2 separate regions of the Homo sapiens genome follow, and region 2 is linked to region 1. Evidence: promoter capture Hi-C in human tissues and cell types (Jung and others, 2019). All regions are on one chromosome and are shown on one strand. Each heading gives the region's core, a stretch centred on a gene start or on the middle of the fragment in contact. The rest is flanking DNA. Distances are from core to core; before and after follow the strand shown. Region 1 holds the start of FAM180A (family with sequence similarity 180 member A). Region 2 overlaps MTPN (myotrophin).

Region 1 (7,617 bases), core at 2,159-4,658:
ACAGATTCGAAAAGTCTGGGACTGGAGGCCAAAATGGTGATTTCTGGTCCTGGATTCCCCATGGCCTGGCAAGCCACGTCCATCGTCCTCACTCACAAGAGTGTCGGCAGGACAGCAGGGAGGCCTGAGTCTTCTTGGCTTCAGCATCAATCAACAAGTATTCAATGGGCAACTGCAGGGTGCTTGCTACCCCGTGCTAGGTCCTTTGGGCAATCCTTGCAGATTTACAAAGTACAAAAAGAAAACATTACACCAGAAGCAAAGATAGTTAGAGCCAGTAAGACTAATCTGATGAGTAGAGGCCATTGTGTGTTGGAGCCAGCTCTTACGGACTTCCTGAGAGCCGATTGTTAATATTTCAGAAACTTTGCAAGCCACTTGTTAAAGTATCAGTAGCTTGAAATCAGCCATGAGTATTTTCACCAGGGGAATTGGCAGGCACTACAAATGAAAGTTTCTCCCCACCCCTCTAGAACTGGTTTACCAGCACTCCAATAAGGAGTTCCTAAAATATAAGGCTTTAAGGCAAGCGAGGGGAGTGGTTTTGCATGCGGGCTCTGAAATCACATAGATTTCTCTGAGCCTGTTTCTTCATGTGTATAGAGCTCACATATATTCAATGCTTACTATGTACCGGATATTATTCTCAACATTTATACGTATTAATGCATTGATACGAGTTAGTGGGTGCAGCGCACCAGCATGGCACATGTATACATATGTAACTAACCTGCACATTGTGAACGTGTACCCTAAAACTTAAAGTATAATAATTAAAAAAAAAAGAAATTACAAGTTAAAGTGCTGCAGCATAAAGAAGAAAAATAATCATTTATGCCATTTTTAATACAGAACCTATTTCCAAATCAAAACCCTTTACACTTGGAATATTGTCAAATCTCAAATTTTTACCTGGCTGAGATCTACGACCACCTTTTGAAACAGAGACAGTGTAGGTATGATTACTCCCTGTATACTCAAGGGTTAGGAAAATGGAAAAGAACCGTGAGCCCCTCAAGAATGGTGGCTTTTCTTATTGGAATGAAGTAAATAAAATAAATTCATCAGCAATGCATTTAATTTCTCTCTTAGCAATTAATTGTGTATCTACATTGAATGATAACTGTGTAAACAGTCAAGATATGCATGTGGCAAATGAAAAATAAAGCAAAATGTTTTATCTTAAAAAAAAATGCATTGATTCCTTGAAACAACCCTATGAGAGGAAATTATTATTGTCCCCATTCTATAGATGAAGAAAATCAAGCCCAAGAGAGATGAGGGAACTCCACCAATATCACACAGCTAGTCAGTGGCACAGCTGGGATACAAAGACAGGCATCTTGCCCCAGAGCCTGCCCTCTCACCTTCTAGCTCTGCACTGCCCGATACAGGAGCCACTGGCTGCATGGAGCTATCAGGTACTTGAAACAGGGCTGGTGTGACTTGAGAAGTGCTATAAGTGTGAAATACACATTAGATTTCAAAGACCTCATGTAAATATTATATATATATATATAAAATATCTTGCTAATACTATATCACTTACTTGTAGAAATGATAATATCTTGGATATATTGAATTAAATGAAAGATATTATTACTATTCATTGCACTTGTTTCTTTTTACTTTTTCTATTTTTTATTTTTTTGAGATGGAGTTTCACTCGTGTTGCCCAGGCTAGAGTGCAGTGGCACCATCTCGCCTCACCACAACCTTCACCTCGCAGGCTCAAGAGACTCTCCTGCCTCAGCCTCTCGAGTAGCTGGGATTACAGGTGTGCACCACCATGCCCGGCTAATTTTTGTATTTTTAGGAGAGACGAGGTTTTGCCATGTTGGCCAGGCTGGTCACGAACTCCTGACCTCAGGTGATCCGCCTGCCTCGGCCTCCCAAAGTGCTAGGATTACAGGCGTGAGCCACTGCACCCAGCCTCTTTTTACTTTTTTTTAGTATGAGTTGTAGAAAATGTTAAGTGACGTTTGTGATTCACGTTACATTTCTGTTGGAGAGTGCTGCTGGCTAGTGCCCTAACCTCCTAGTTCGGTGGATGCATTAAATCAGTTAATGCAAGGAGGGCACCTAGCACGCTGTCTGAAGCAAATTAAGCACCTAATAGCTATTATTAATATTAGTGAGCGTACTGGTTTTCAAATGTTGTAGTCTAGTATTTTTTCCCCCAAAAAAACTGGTTGTTTTTTTTTTAATTTTTTTAAGAGGAAAGTTCTTACTCTGTCACCCAGGCTGGAGTAGAGTGTTGTGATCATAGCTCACTGCAGCCTTGAACTCCTGGGCCTAAACAATCCTTCTGCCTCAGCCACCTGAGTGACTAGGACTACAGGCACATGCCACCACGCCCAGCTAATTTTTTAATTTTTTGTAGAGACAGGGTCTATTTTCTCTAGGTTGGTCTTGAACTTCTGGCCTCAAGCAATTCCCCCACTTCGGCCTCCCAAAGTGTTGGGATTACAGGCGTGAACCACCATGCCCGGCTCCCAAACAACTTCTTATAGCAGATAAAAGAGGAGCTTTTGCAGTAGAGTAGAGCTTTGAGGAGCCCTCTTGGGGAGCCCATTCACCCTGGGCACCACCTCCACAAACTGGAAAACCCACAGGATGACATAATCTTTAAGTGTCCTTCAAGCTTTAGCATTCCCTATCATTTCAGAGAAGTTGAGGAAGTGATTGGGAAAGAATTAAGGTGTCTATGGCAGTATATTACAACGACTATGGAAAAACACTCCCATTTTGCTTGGGAAAATCAAAGTGGCTTGGCCCCAGGTCTAGGCACAGCCCAGAAATGGGAGCATCACCAATGTGAGTTGTGGGGCTTGGCCCCAGGTCTAGGCACAGCCCAGAAATGGGAGCATCACCAATGTGAGTTGGGGGTCCCCGTGGGCTCCTGGATCATTACCTACGCACGTTCACACAGACAATACCGATGCACCATGTCACCTCTCCACTTCGGCTCGGTCACAACCTGCCAACTCCCCACCCACCCAGAACCTGGGCAGACCAGACACAGGCTCTAGGCGCCAATGTCCTAGTCTAGCTCCAGGGCCAGGCAACAGTGACACTCAGCCCAGGCACCACAATGATTTTGCTGTCCTGAAGGCAACTTAGGCTCAACCAGCCCTGGTGTCTGCCAGGCAGGCTCCCAACTCTGCCTCCAGCCCTCGCCCCTGGCTCTGGTATCGTATGTGTGGACGGGGAGAGCAGCCAACTCTTCGCCGGGCTCTCTAACAAGTTCCGCGGGTCTGTTTGTTAAAGAAAAATTCCAGTGGGTGCATCCAACACATGGAACTCAAGTACAGAAATTATATTTATCCGCCCCACTGCCAAGGAGATCACATGCCCCGTGAGTCACTCCAGATGTGCTCAAAAACAGAGTCTCTCTGTGGAAGGCCAGTTCCCCAATCCCAGAGAGCGTCAAATGAAGAGAGGTACCGACTCCTGTCCCACCCAGGACGCAGCCTTCAGCCTCCAGCCTTCTGAGGCAGAGTAGGCATTTCTGCACGTCTGCAAAAGGAAGGGAGGGAAGCACTCCATCATCTCACTGGGAAGAACGGCACGGGCATACCTGCAGCTACTGGGGTTCCACTGGGCTTGAGGGTCGATTTTTCACCTTTTGAAGGACAAGATGCATTGGAAGATGTTGCTGCTTCTGCTGTTGTATTACAATGCTGAGGCTTCTATGTGCCACAGGTGGAGCAGGGGTGAGTTGCTTTTTATTCATTTGTTTGTTTGATGCTCATTATACTTTCTTCAATGCAATTCAAAATTTGGAGGGAAGGACATTAGAAGCCCCGCACTCTCCTTTTGTCTAATCTCTGTCAATTCCTTGATGCTTCTTGACGTGTTCCCCCTTCTTAGAGGGTGATGGGGAAATGACACTGGAAAAAATCAAAGCTCCTGAGGGAATTAGGTTGAGGTGGAGAACCCAGAGAGTACCCCTTTCTGGCATCCCAGAGAGAACTCATTTCTGCTTCATAGAAAGTAGAACTCATTTCTTCGACTGCCCCCACCACCTGCAGCAGTTGGGCCAGACCGTCTGGAGAGCAGGTGCTGAGACCTGCTGCTAAAATGATGGAGTGATGGGCACTGGGATGCCAAAGGCCTGCTCCCTGGGGGAACCAGAGCAGAAGCTCTGCAGAACGTTGCCTCCTCACCGGGAGGGGATGCATCTCTGCAGCCAGAGGTGGGCAGGTGAGGAGAGCAACCCTTCAACCTCCACTGCACCCACCAGCTCCGCCACCTCCTCACAAAGGAAGGGGCCCCAGCAAAGGCTGTTCTCTTATCACTGACTTCCTCCCCCTCAGGATGTAGTTCCTCCTAGCTGGATGGCATCTTTTCTCCATTTCCCTGGGAGTGGCTCTGCTTGGTAGACACTGGGAGCACCTCGAGCCAGAGTTTATCACTGTTAGGAAAGGAGGGACCCACGGCACTGCCCACTCTTCACCAATATGAACGGAAATCTTTCCACTGCCTAAAGTCAACTGAGTTCACTCTCCTAGAAAGAACCGCAAGAAGAACAGGCTCCTTCAAGTCAGGCCAGTAGGTGTTTCTAGAGATGCAAAATTGGAAGGCAACTGGCATGGTGGCATGGATGCGCCTCCTGCTTGCTTCTCAAGGACAGTGTCAGGGAAGGAAGGAGTGGCCGGAGTGGGGATAGAGCAGCGCGAGAGAAGGATCTGAAATGGGAGGGAGGCAAAAGCTACTGTACTTATGCTGGGTTTTATTTCCTCATGGTTAAACGTGACATTAGGGACTTACATCTCTAACAGGGATATAAGTCTTTTGAGCTGAGCTGTGAAGTGATCGTTGCCCAGAAACAAATAATACAGCATTCTTCATTTTTCTCATAACAACCTTGCATACACATGCACATACACACGTACACCCCTCCCTTTTCTTTTTTTAATTTTTAATTTTTAATTTCTGTGGGCACATAGTAGGTATACATATTTATGGGGCCTATGAGATGTTTTGATACAGGCACGTCACATCATGGAAGATGGGGTATCCATCCCCTCAAGCATTTAGCCTTTGTGTTACAAACAATCCAGTGATACCCTTTTAGTTACTTTTATTTGTTATTTATTTACTTATTTATTTATTTTTGAGACGGAGTCTCACTCTGTTGCCCAGGCTGGAATGCAGGGGTGCAATCTTGGTTCACTGCAACCTCCGCCTCCCAGGTTCAAGCGATTCTCGTGCCTCAGTCTCCTGAGTAGCTGGAGTTACAGGTGCGCACCACCACGCCTGGCTAATTTTTGTATTTTTAGTAGAGATGGGGTTTCACCATGTTGGCCAGGCTGCTCTCAAACTCCTGACCTCAAGTGATCTGCCCACCTCAGCCTCCCAAAGTTCTGGGATTATAGGCATGAGCCATAGTGCCTGGCCCTCTTTTAGTTCTTTTTAAATGTACAATTAAATTGTTATTGACTGTAGTCACCCTGTTTTCACACCTCCCTTTTCATTGTGTGCACAAACTTTGAGGTAGCACTTGGAAGTAAAAAGCAAAGAGATCTTGGAGTTGGGTTCTGTCACTCCCCTCTTTGTCACACTGGGGATTTGCTTATTAAACAGGGTAACAGTGCCCACTCTTCCTAAGGCACAGGCTATTACAAAGCCAAAAGGGATTATTTGACTTGCAATATGGTTTGTAAACACGATAGCCACATCATGAGCTACTCTGCAAGGGTCCTGGTTTAAGTTCCATCTCTATTTGGCAATGTGATCTCAGACAAGTCTCTTAACCTCTCTGAGCTTTAGTTCACTAACGGGTGACATTAACATCCATCACATCAATAAAACCCTCATGCTATTACTGTGAGGGTCATATTCAAAAATATAGATGAAAATACTTTGTAAATGACAAAGCACAATATAAATATTAGCTATTGCCTACCAGTTTTTGAAAAATAAAAATTTTTCATTAAAGGAAGTTTAAGGCTCTTAACAGGGGAATCTACAGCAACATTCTGGGAGCAACTTCTCCGGGCCATGTCCTTCCGCATTGGGGAAGGTCTTTCCACAGTGAGTTCACAATCCACTGACTCAAAGCCAGCCAAACCGAGGTCACTATGAGGCAGCGGATGTGACGTGCTAGATTAATGGCTCAAGTCAGCGCTGAGTCAACAAATGATACAGAGTCCCTCCAACCATCATCAAATGTCTTCCGCGTAGTTGATTTTTTTTTCATTTTTAACATTTTTTTCTAATTATAAAAGAAATACACAATTCTTGCCATCTTTTTTTTCAAGACTGAATAGGAGTCACACCCAAATGAGTAAGTTTTTCCAAATGTATTATTCATTTCACCTTCATCCTTACCCCCACCCTACCTCCAGCCTCAATTCAAAGTACTCCCTTTGGAAACAGTCTTAGGGCAATCTCTTCCAGAGCTTTTCCTCTTCCACCCCCTGCCCTTTGGCCCCCAGCCCCACCACTACCCCGTGTCCATCCTCCCACCCTCCTGCTCCAAAATGTAAATGTAGATGTAAACCCACAGGCAATATGCGCCTTGTTGTTAGCACTGTCTTTTTCCTACCATCCTCCCAGCCTTTCCCTAAGCGCTCTCTAGGATTCCACCCTGGGAGGCAGCTTTCCATGCCAGGATCCAGGATCACCCATTCCAGCCCCACCAGTTTGATGAAGACCAAATGACTCACCTGTGGCCAAGCCAGGAAAGCCACATCTACACACACACACACATACACACACACAGAAACACACACACACACACACAGGTGGCCCACGTCCCAGCACATACCAGGTCCTGCCAGGGCACCACTGGAAGGGGGAGGACTAGCCAGACTTGAGAAAGAATTATGCACCTATTAAGGATATGAATGAAATATGCACCTATTAAGGATATGAATAGCTATGCTTTTGTTGAATACATACAAGTTATTTTTTAAGTAGTTTAATAGAGCAGCCCTTCCATTTTTTGGTGGACCTTATGTCATTTTCAGGTGTCCATTTAAGGGTTGTGTGTGTCCTCAGTCATGAATGTTCCATGAGGGAAAGGCCTGTGGTCAGTACTCAGTAAGTACTCACTGACTGCCGGGCACGGTGGTGCACGCCTATAATTCCAGTGACTCAGGGGAAAGTTAAAAAAAAAATTAGCTGGGTGTAGCAGCACATGCCTGTAGTCCCAGCTACTCAGAAGGTTAAGGTGGTAGGATCACTTAAGGCAAGGAGATCAAGGTGGTAGGATCACTTAGGCCCAGGAGGTCAACGATGCAGAGAGCTATGATTGCGCCACTTCACTCCAGCCTGGATGATGGAGCAAGACCCTGTATCCAAAAAGAAAATTGTTTTAAGTATTCACTGCCCAAGTGCCCCATACAGAGCCATCTCCTCTCTCCATAGTAACTCTGTGAGGCAGGTGCTATCCTAACCATTTACAGGTTAGAAAATTGGAGAGTGAGGCAAGAAGTGAAGTGACCCAGCTCCCCCAGCTGCAAGGGCAGAGTTGAATTTGATCCCCCAGGTCCATCTGCTGGCAGAGTGCCCCGTCCTCATTCATCCGCTCTGCATATTTCTCCATCCCCCATGGGCCACTCACCTGCTCCCGGCAGCCCCAAGCTCCCCCCTACATGGTGGAGCTTT
Region 2 (7,617 bases), core at 1,318-3,817, 200 kb before region 1:
AAGTCTAATTTGTTCTGCCTTTTATCAAAAGTAGAATTCTTATGGATTATTATGAATTCACTTGAAAAGACTTGGTTTAAGAACTTTCCAGATTCATTGACATTTCCAATACATTATCCAGTTGATTTATCCTTAGCATACGAAAAAAGGCAAAATAATAAACAGGGATTTAGAAACTCAGTATGATCACAACTAATAGGGGAGAAATCAGAAAAACAAACATGATTGCTAGAATATTTGAAATCAAACTTTATATGATATGCTGTATCATTTATAATTTATTATAAACCCAAATACTTAGGTATTATTATCTCTCTTTTATGGATAAGGAAACCATTTATCTCGGGGTGGTCTAACTGCTTGAAAGTCAAATACAATGTAATGGAATCAAGATTTGTTCCAAGATGTAGGATTCAGCAGCCTGTGTTCTTACTATTACTTGAAATTGCCTTTCAGAAGTACTGTCAGGTCAGTTAATGAGAAATGGAACATGTACATATCTGCAGGTAAAAAGACTTGTGGCCTCATTTTTAATTGGCAAGCTGGTAAATGAGAAAAATGTAGAGATCAACAGATGAGAGGCTTCCATTTCAAAGTTTAGGTGTGAGCACATTCTGTGGTGTTCTCTTTTTGCCCCCAGTGACAGAAAAGATGTTTTTAAAGTGAGTTGATCAGTATCTGCTTTGGACCAGAAGAATTGGATCCATCAAACAAGAAATGATAAGGAAACCTTGAAAGACAGAAAACAAGCAGGGTAGGGCCAAAGAAGAAATTCCCAAATAAGAGCAAGAGAGTATTGTTGCAAAAGGCAAGAGCTGATCCAAGGCCACGCCCAGAGGTGCCTAGTACCCCCAAGCAACAAATGGAGTGACAAGTTGGATGCACTTCAGGAAGAAGCAAATTAAACCCAAAAGGAAAGACTGAGATGCAAGAAGGGGAATGATAAGTAAGAAGTTAGTGTGAATTAGTATGTGAATAACTCTAAACAAATATTTAACACTGAAGTTTTTAAAAAATAAGCTAGAACCAAATAAGGTAAATAATATGAGATGATCAAAGCTTCTGGTATTTTCACCAAATCCAGAGTACCTGAGAAACATGGTAAAACTAGCAAGAAGAAACAAGGGAAAGGAGGCAGATAATTAATGCAGGCTCAAGAAGCATCCTTGAAGAGGTAGCAGCAGCAGAGGAGTGAGAGTGTGAAGAAGCTGATGTGAGTGTATGAGACAGACACTCATAATAGAAAAGTAGCAACTGACCAGTACAGCAGTCTGTGGAGAGGCCAAGCCCAATGCCTGTTTTTATCAAAGCAATAATAGGCAGCCTGTATAATCATGTGTCATTTAGAATTATAATTATCTCAGTGAAATAAGGTTCCCCTTTATTTGCCCTAAAAAATCTTAACCAGGAAATTTTTGGAATGAAAAGGATATTTAAAAGGTGGTATTAAAAAGTCCTTCAGTTCAAAAGTTGGCAAACTTTTTCCTAGGCATACCCTTTTTGCGAAGGCATGCCTTTGCAAACTACATGGTCACTGATGTAACATTGCCATAGACAATACATAAACGGATGGGCATGGCTGCATCCCAGTAAAACTTCATATACAAAAACAAATATCCAGGCCATGTTTGCCAACCCCTGCTCTAGCTCATAAATAGTTTGGAATTTATAAGGCACATCGTTTTAAAACCCTAACCCTCAGTGGTAAGATGATGCTTCCCTAAGTGCTACAAGGTGAGTGTGTATCCTTCTGGATGCTTTTATTAGACTATGCTAGCACTTATTTTTGAAAAGATTTTTTAATGTAGCCAAACAAGAGTTTATAGGACACTTATCTGGGATATTCACTGTTCATTACTAAACTGGTCTTTCTGATTAAAATCTTAAACACTTGAATAATAGCAAGGTTGCACAAACACATTAGAAGGGGGCTAAACATGAAATCATATTCTTGAATAGTATTAGCTGATGGACTTTCCTAAGTTCAGAGTTCATTTACAGTAGTCCCCCTTTTCTGCAGTTACCCATGGTCATGGTGAGTACATTACTAAGATACTTTGTGAGAGAGACACCACATTACCATAACTTTTATTACAGTTAACTTTTATTAGCATGTTATAGTTGTTCTATTTTATTATTATTATTTCTTCCTGTGCCTAATTTATAAATTAAACTTTATCATAGGTATGTGTGTATAGGAAAAAACATAGTGCAGTCATGTGCCATATAATGACGTTTCAGTCAACAGTGTGCTTATGGAGATGCTGGTGTAAACAAACCTACCTCACTGCTGGTCATACATAATGCTTGGTAATGACTGTGTTATATGTTTATGTATTTACTATACTATGCTTTTTATTCTTATTTTAGACTAGAGTTTCTTCTACTTATTAAAAAAAAAGTTAATGTAAAAGAACTTCAGGCATGTCCTTCAGGAGGTATTCTAGAAAAAGGCATTTTTATCATACGAGTTGACAGCTCCATGTATTCTCTTGCCCCTGAAAATCTTCCAATGGGACAAGATATGGAGGTGGAAAAAGTGATATTGATGATCCTGACCCTGTGTAGGTCTAGGTCTAGGCTCGTGTTTGTGTGTATGTTAGTTTTCAACAAAAAAGTTTTAAAAAATTTTTAATTAGATAAAAACTTACAGAATAAGAATATAAAAGAAAATATTTTTCTACAGCTGTGCAGTGTACTTGTGTTTTAAGCTAAGCTTTATTACAAAACAGTCAAAATGTTAAAGACATTTAAAAGTTTATAAAGTAAAAAAGTTACAGTGAGCTAAGGTTAATTTATTGCTGAAAAAAGAAAATTTTTCTTATAAATTTAGTGTAGCCTAAGTATACAGTGTTTGTAAAGTCTATAGTAGTGTGTAGTAATGTCCTAGGCCTTCACCTTCACTCACCACTCATCTCACTCAGAACAACCTCCAGTCCTGCAGGCTTCATTGATGATGAGTGCCCTATACAGGTGTACCATTTTTATCTTTTATACTGTATTTTTACCATACCTTTTCTATGTTTAGATACACAAATACTTACCATCGTGTTACAGCTGCCTATAATATTCAGTACAGTAACATACTGGATATAGGTTTGTAGCCTAGGAGCAATAGGCTATAACATATATCCTACGTGTGTAGTAGGCCATACCATCTAGGTTTATGTAAGGACACTCTATGATGTTCACACAATGATGAAATTCCCTTGTTAAGTGACATGTGGCTGTATATATTAGGGTTCATTACTGTCTGTGGTTTCAAGGCATCCATTGGAGGTCTTGAAATATGTCTCCTACAGATAAAAGGAGACTACTATATTTTTCACAGTTACATATAATTGGACATCTTAATATAGTTTTGACAATTCTGTAAGAGAAATAATAGTAGTTTGCCTGTAGTATTAATACACTATCATGTGGCACATTTATTTTCATTTTATTTTATTTATTTATTTTTTTGAGACAGAGTCTCCCTCTGTCCCCCAGGCTGGAGTGCAATGGCGTGATCTCGGCTCACAGGTTCAGGCACTTCTCCTGCCTCAGCCTCCCAAGTAGCTGGGATTACCACACTCAGCTAATTTTTATATTTTTAGTAGAGACGGGGGTTTTGCCATGTTGACCAGGCTGGTCTCAAACTCCTGACCTCAGGTGATCCGCCTGCCTCGGCCTCCCAAAGTGCTGGGATTACAGGCGCGAGCCACCACGCCTGGCCTCATGTTGCACATTTCTAATATTAACATAATACATATAATATTGAAGATTATATTTTCTATAATACTCATTAAAATTCCATATAATGTACATAATTCCTTATAATTTTAATAAAGAACTTTAAGAAGTTCAGTATTCCTAATCCTAAGGAATACTATTTCTAAATAATCAACTATGGGGTATTGTGGGGAAATATCCTAATTATTTACTTCTTTTATCAATCATTTAAAGATGTTATATTTGCTATAATTTAGAATTTAGACAGATAAGCTTTCAGTCATTTATGCTGGTGTATTTACACTCCATGCCTTACATGGTATATACTGCTATTAAAAATGACCTCTCAATCGCCTATAGAAATACGAATTCTTATAAATAAATAGAAAAAGTTATACCCCAGCATGAGAGAATCAGAATCCCATGAGTTGAGAATTCAATGAAAGTTTCAAAACATTGCAGTTTTATTCTTAGATTACAAAAATAATCTGACAGCATACTTAATTTGTTATTATAAGCTATCATTTTGTTACTAGTGATATTTAGCACACTGAGCTATACCTGAGAGGAGAAAGCCCAAAAGAACTGCTTTTTTGTTTTCCTTTTTTTCTCTGCTTCTGTGTCAAAAGAATTTATCTCCTCAGGAAGCCAACTCTAATCTTACAACAACAACTATATATAATATACCACTGATGGTTATGCAGCGCTAATTTTAGTGACTCAGCTGTTTCAGACCACTCTGTAAGTTAACTATTCCTGGCTTGAGAACAAAGGTATACTCAACTGCATTCTTATTTAAAGGAAGTCAAAATGTTTTATGTTTTATGTATAATTGCTATAGAGATTTAAAAATACTGAAATTCAGTCTGCTGAGGAAATAGAAAAAACCATCTTGTCTGGTAACATTCATGTTTTTGATAAATGTATTTTCTGTGCTTTTTCTTTTTAATCACGTAGCCAGTTAGTAAAACTTGAATATCCCTCTCAAGTATCAGCATTGTTGACTCCTCAGGGAAGTGTCTGTGGTGCAGAATTGCTACTTGAATTGGGAATCAAATGTGTAAGATATAAGGGCTGAAAGTTAGCCCTTTTTAGCATAAGCAAATTGGCGTGCCTGCAGGCAGAACAAATATTTACTTGAATTACTATTTGTTACTTGAATTACTACCATACCTCCAATAAAATCTGAATAGCTTCAGATATTCCCCCACTCACATTTTAGGATTATTTGGAACCCCAAAATTCTGTTCCATATAACATGGTCAAGTTGGGTTTCAAAAAAGTTTTAGGACTGGTCTTCCTCAAAGAGCTCAGCAGTGCCTTACTGAATTGTCTTATTTTTAAGAAACTGTGTCATAAAGGGCCTACCAGAGTGATATATCTACAAGATTTACCCCATAAATAACTGAAGAACCAATTGTTAGACTGTTTTGATAGGTTTCACAAATCTCATACACAAGTATGCCCACGGTGTAAGTTCATTGTCGTTAACTGTTTAGCTCTTTTAGACTACAGCACATCATTTTAGCTTCTGTTAGTGATCTGTGCTATGTGCTGGGGTGCCACACACCTACACACACACAAGTTTAGTTCTCAGTTCTGCTTAATAACTCTGGGTTTGAGCAAGTTTCTTAATATCTCAGCCTAAGCTTTCTCTTCTGTAACATAGGCCTGTATTTATCACATAGAGTTGATATGAGGATAAAATAGCTCACAGTTAAATGACATTTCCTATGTACAAGTACAGTTTTGAGGGCTTTGTGTATATTAACTTATTTAATCACCGTAGTAGTCTTATAAAATATTTTTTTAATCCATTTTACCACTGGGGAAACAGAGGCACAAAATGATTTAGGAAATTTGCCCAGCATCACACAACTAGCAAGAAGGGGAATTGGAATTCAAATCCAGTCAATTTTGCTCTAGAGCCTGTGTCTGTAACCATTACATTATACTGCCTCTCAGTATAGCCAAGTACTCAAGTGAGATAATGTGTATAAGCCACTCGCTGAAATGCCGAGCACATCATGAGTTCTCAGCAAGTACAAAGACTTTAGGATTGATGTGCTTCTCAGGAAAGGAAAGACTTGCTGTAGGAATGAGGGTTCCCTGAAGAAAATTAACTTTATGAGAAGAACTTTCTTTCAAGTGTGGACATACTTTTTTGTCTGAAACTTAGGATGTACCACCTTTTAAGTAATATAACAGCGGCCGGGCACAGTAGCTCACGCCTGTAATCCCAGCACTTTGGGAGGCCGAGGCGGGCGGATCACCTGAGGTCAGGAGTTCGAGACCAGCCTGGCCAACATGGTTAAACCCCATCTCTACTAAAAATGCAAAAAAAAAATTAGCCGGGCGTGGTGGCAGGTGCCTGTTATCTCAGCTACTCAGGAGGCTGAGGCAGGAGAATAGCTTGAACCCGGGAGGTGGAGTTTGTAGTGAGCTGAGATCATGCCATTGCACTCCAGCCTGGGCAACAAAAATGAAACTCCCGTCTCAAAAAAAAAAAAAAAAAAGTAATATAACAGCTCAATATGTGACTGTCCTTGAAGAGGAGTAATTTGAAGGCTCGTTTGTGCTTTAGCCCATCCTATTTCCATGATGAATTTTTCTCTGAAACCTTGAAATGATCTTTCTATTCATGTTAAATATGATTGCTATAGTGATATTAAAATCATATTTTTACTAGGGGTACCATAAGAACAAATCCAAGACCATTATATATGCAACTGAAAATGAACTATAGTTAACTGTGTTCAAATAAGGAATAAAACGAAACATAAAATGTCTCATTGCTCACATGTGTGTGAGTCTCATTTGTTAGTTTTTGTCATTTGAGTAAGTTTGAGCAGCTGCTTGGAAAACTTGAAGTACCTGCCTCTTTAGATTTTAATTGACATTTTAAGAATTGAATTTTTGGAAAAGTTAAAGAGATGAGACAACAGCATCAACACTTAACCCACTTGGTAAATTAAAGTTCTCAACAAATGCTTTGGTTCATATGACATTCCCCATTGTTGGAGAAGCAGAGTGGTGCAGATAGAGGAGCTTGGCAATGAAGTTAGTAAACCTAGATTTAAGGCCTGGTTCTGTAACTTCATAGCTAGTAAATCACTTGACATCTGAACTCAGTGGGTTTAATAGTATTCATACCCCAGGATTATTCTGAGAATCAAAGAAGGTAATGGTCTTTCCTATTTTTAGTACTTGCCACACTATTTATGAAATATATGAGAACTAGTCTCTGATTCTCCCTAATGCCCTAGAACAGTGGGCAACAAACATTTTCTATTAAGGGCCAGGTAGTAAACATTTTCTGTTAAGGGCCAGGTAGTAAACATTTGGGGCTTTCTGTGCCTTATGGTCTCCATTAAAGCTTCTCATCTCTGCCACTGTGATGCAAAAGCAGCCATAAGCAACATGTAAATGAATGAGCCTAGGTATGTTCCAGTAACATTTTATTTACCAAAGCTGTATCTGCCACTTAATAGAAACTCAGTAAAGATTCACAGAATGGACTTGTGAATTGAGTGTCTATGAAAAGATGCTGTGGTGTCAGAGTGTGCAACAGATGACAAGTCATATGTGTGCCATCCCACAGTTCTTTTATTTTCTGTAAGATACAAATAAGCTGCAGATATCTAAAGGTAATAAATTCCAAAATCTAGTCTTGTCCCTAACATTTTGGGGGGAGAGGCCATGGGTAATTTTCAACTAAATGTGGTATAGAATACAAAATTTGGAGTCAGATGGTTCTAGTTTTCGTATTTGTTGACTGACCTTGGGCAAGTTTCTTAACTGAGCTTGAGAGCCTGTCTACAAAATGGAGTTAACAATGTCCACTTCAGGGGACTGCTGTGAGAAACATGTGGTTACATATTTTTACTGTTACATTAAAAACTCAAA

The links. The method cuts DNA at HindIII sites, captures the fragments that hold promoters and counts their contacts. A contact is called where the count stands out against the background at its distance.
Region 2: a contact is called between a fragment that was not itself captured here and the fragment with the promoter of FAM180A in region 1, in 4 of the 25 tissues and cell types used here (bladder, mesenchymal stem cells, spleen and 1 more).

What each region holds. Positions count from the first base shown.
Region 1 is chr7:135,744,604-135,752,220 of GRCh38, reverse strand. FAM180A (family with sequence similarity 180 member A) reads left to right here and starts at 3,408. Exons shown (of 4, transcript NM_205855.4): 1 at 3,408-3,716. The coding sequence starts at 3,641. RefSeq lists an enhancer at 5,771-6,970. The HindIII fragment of the contact is 9,123 bases long and covers 865-7,617 here.
Region 2 is chr7:135,940,492-135,948,108 of GRCh38, reverse strand. The region is part of intron 3 of MTPN (myotrophin); the gene reads left to right. Among named protein-coding and RNA genes, the nearest start is that of MTPN, 33 kb to the left of the region's middle. The HindIII fragment of the contact is 4,210 bases long and covers 463-4,672 here.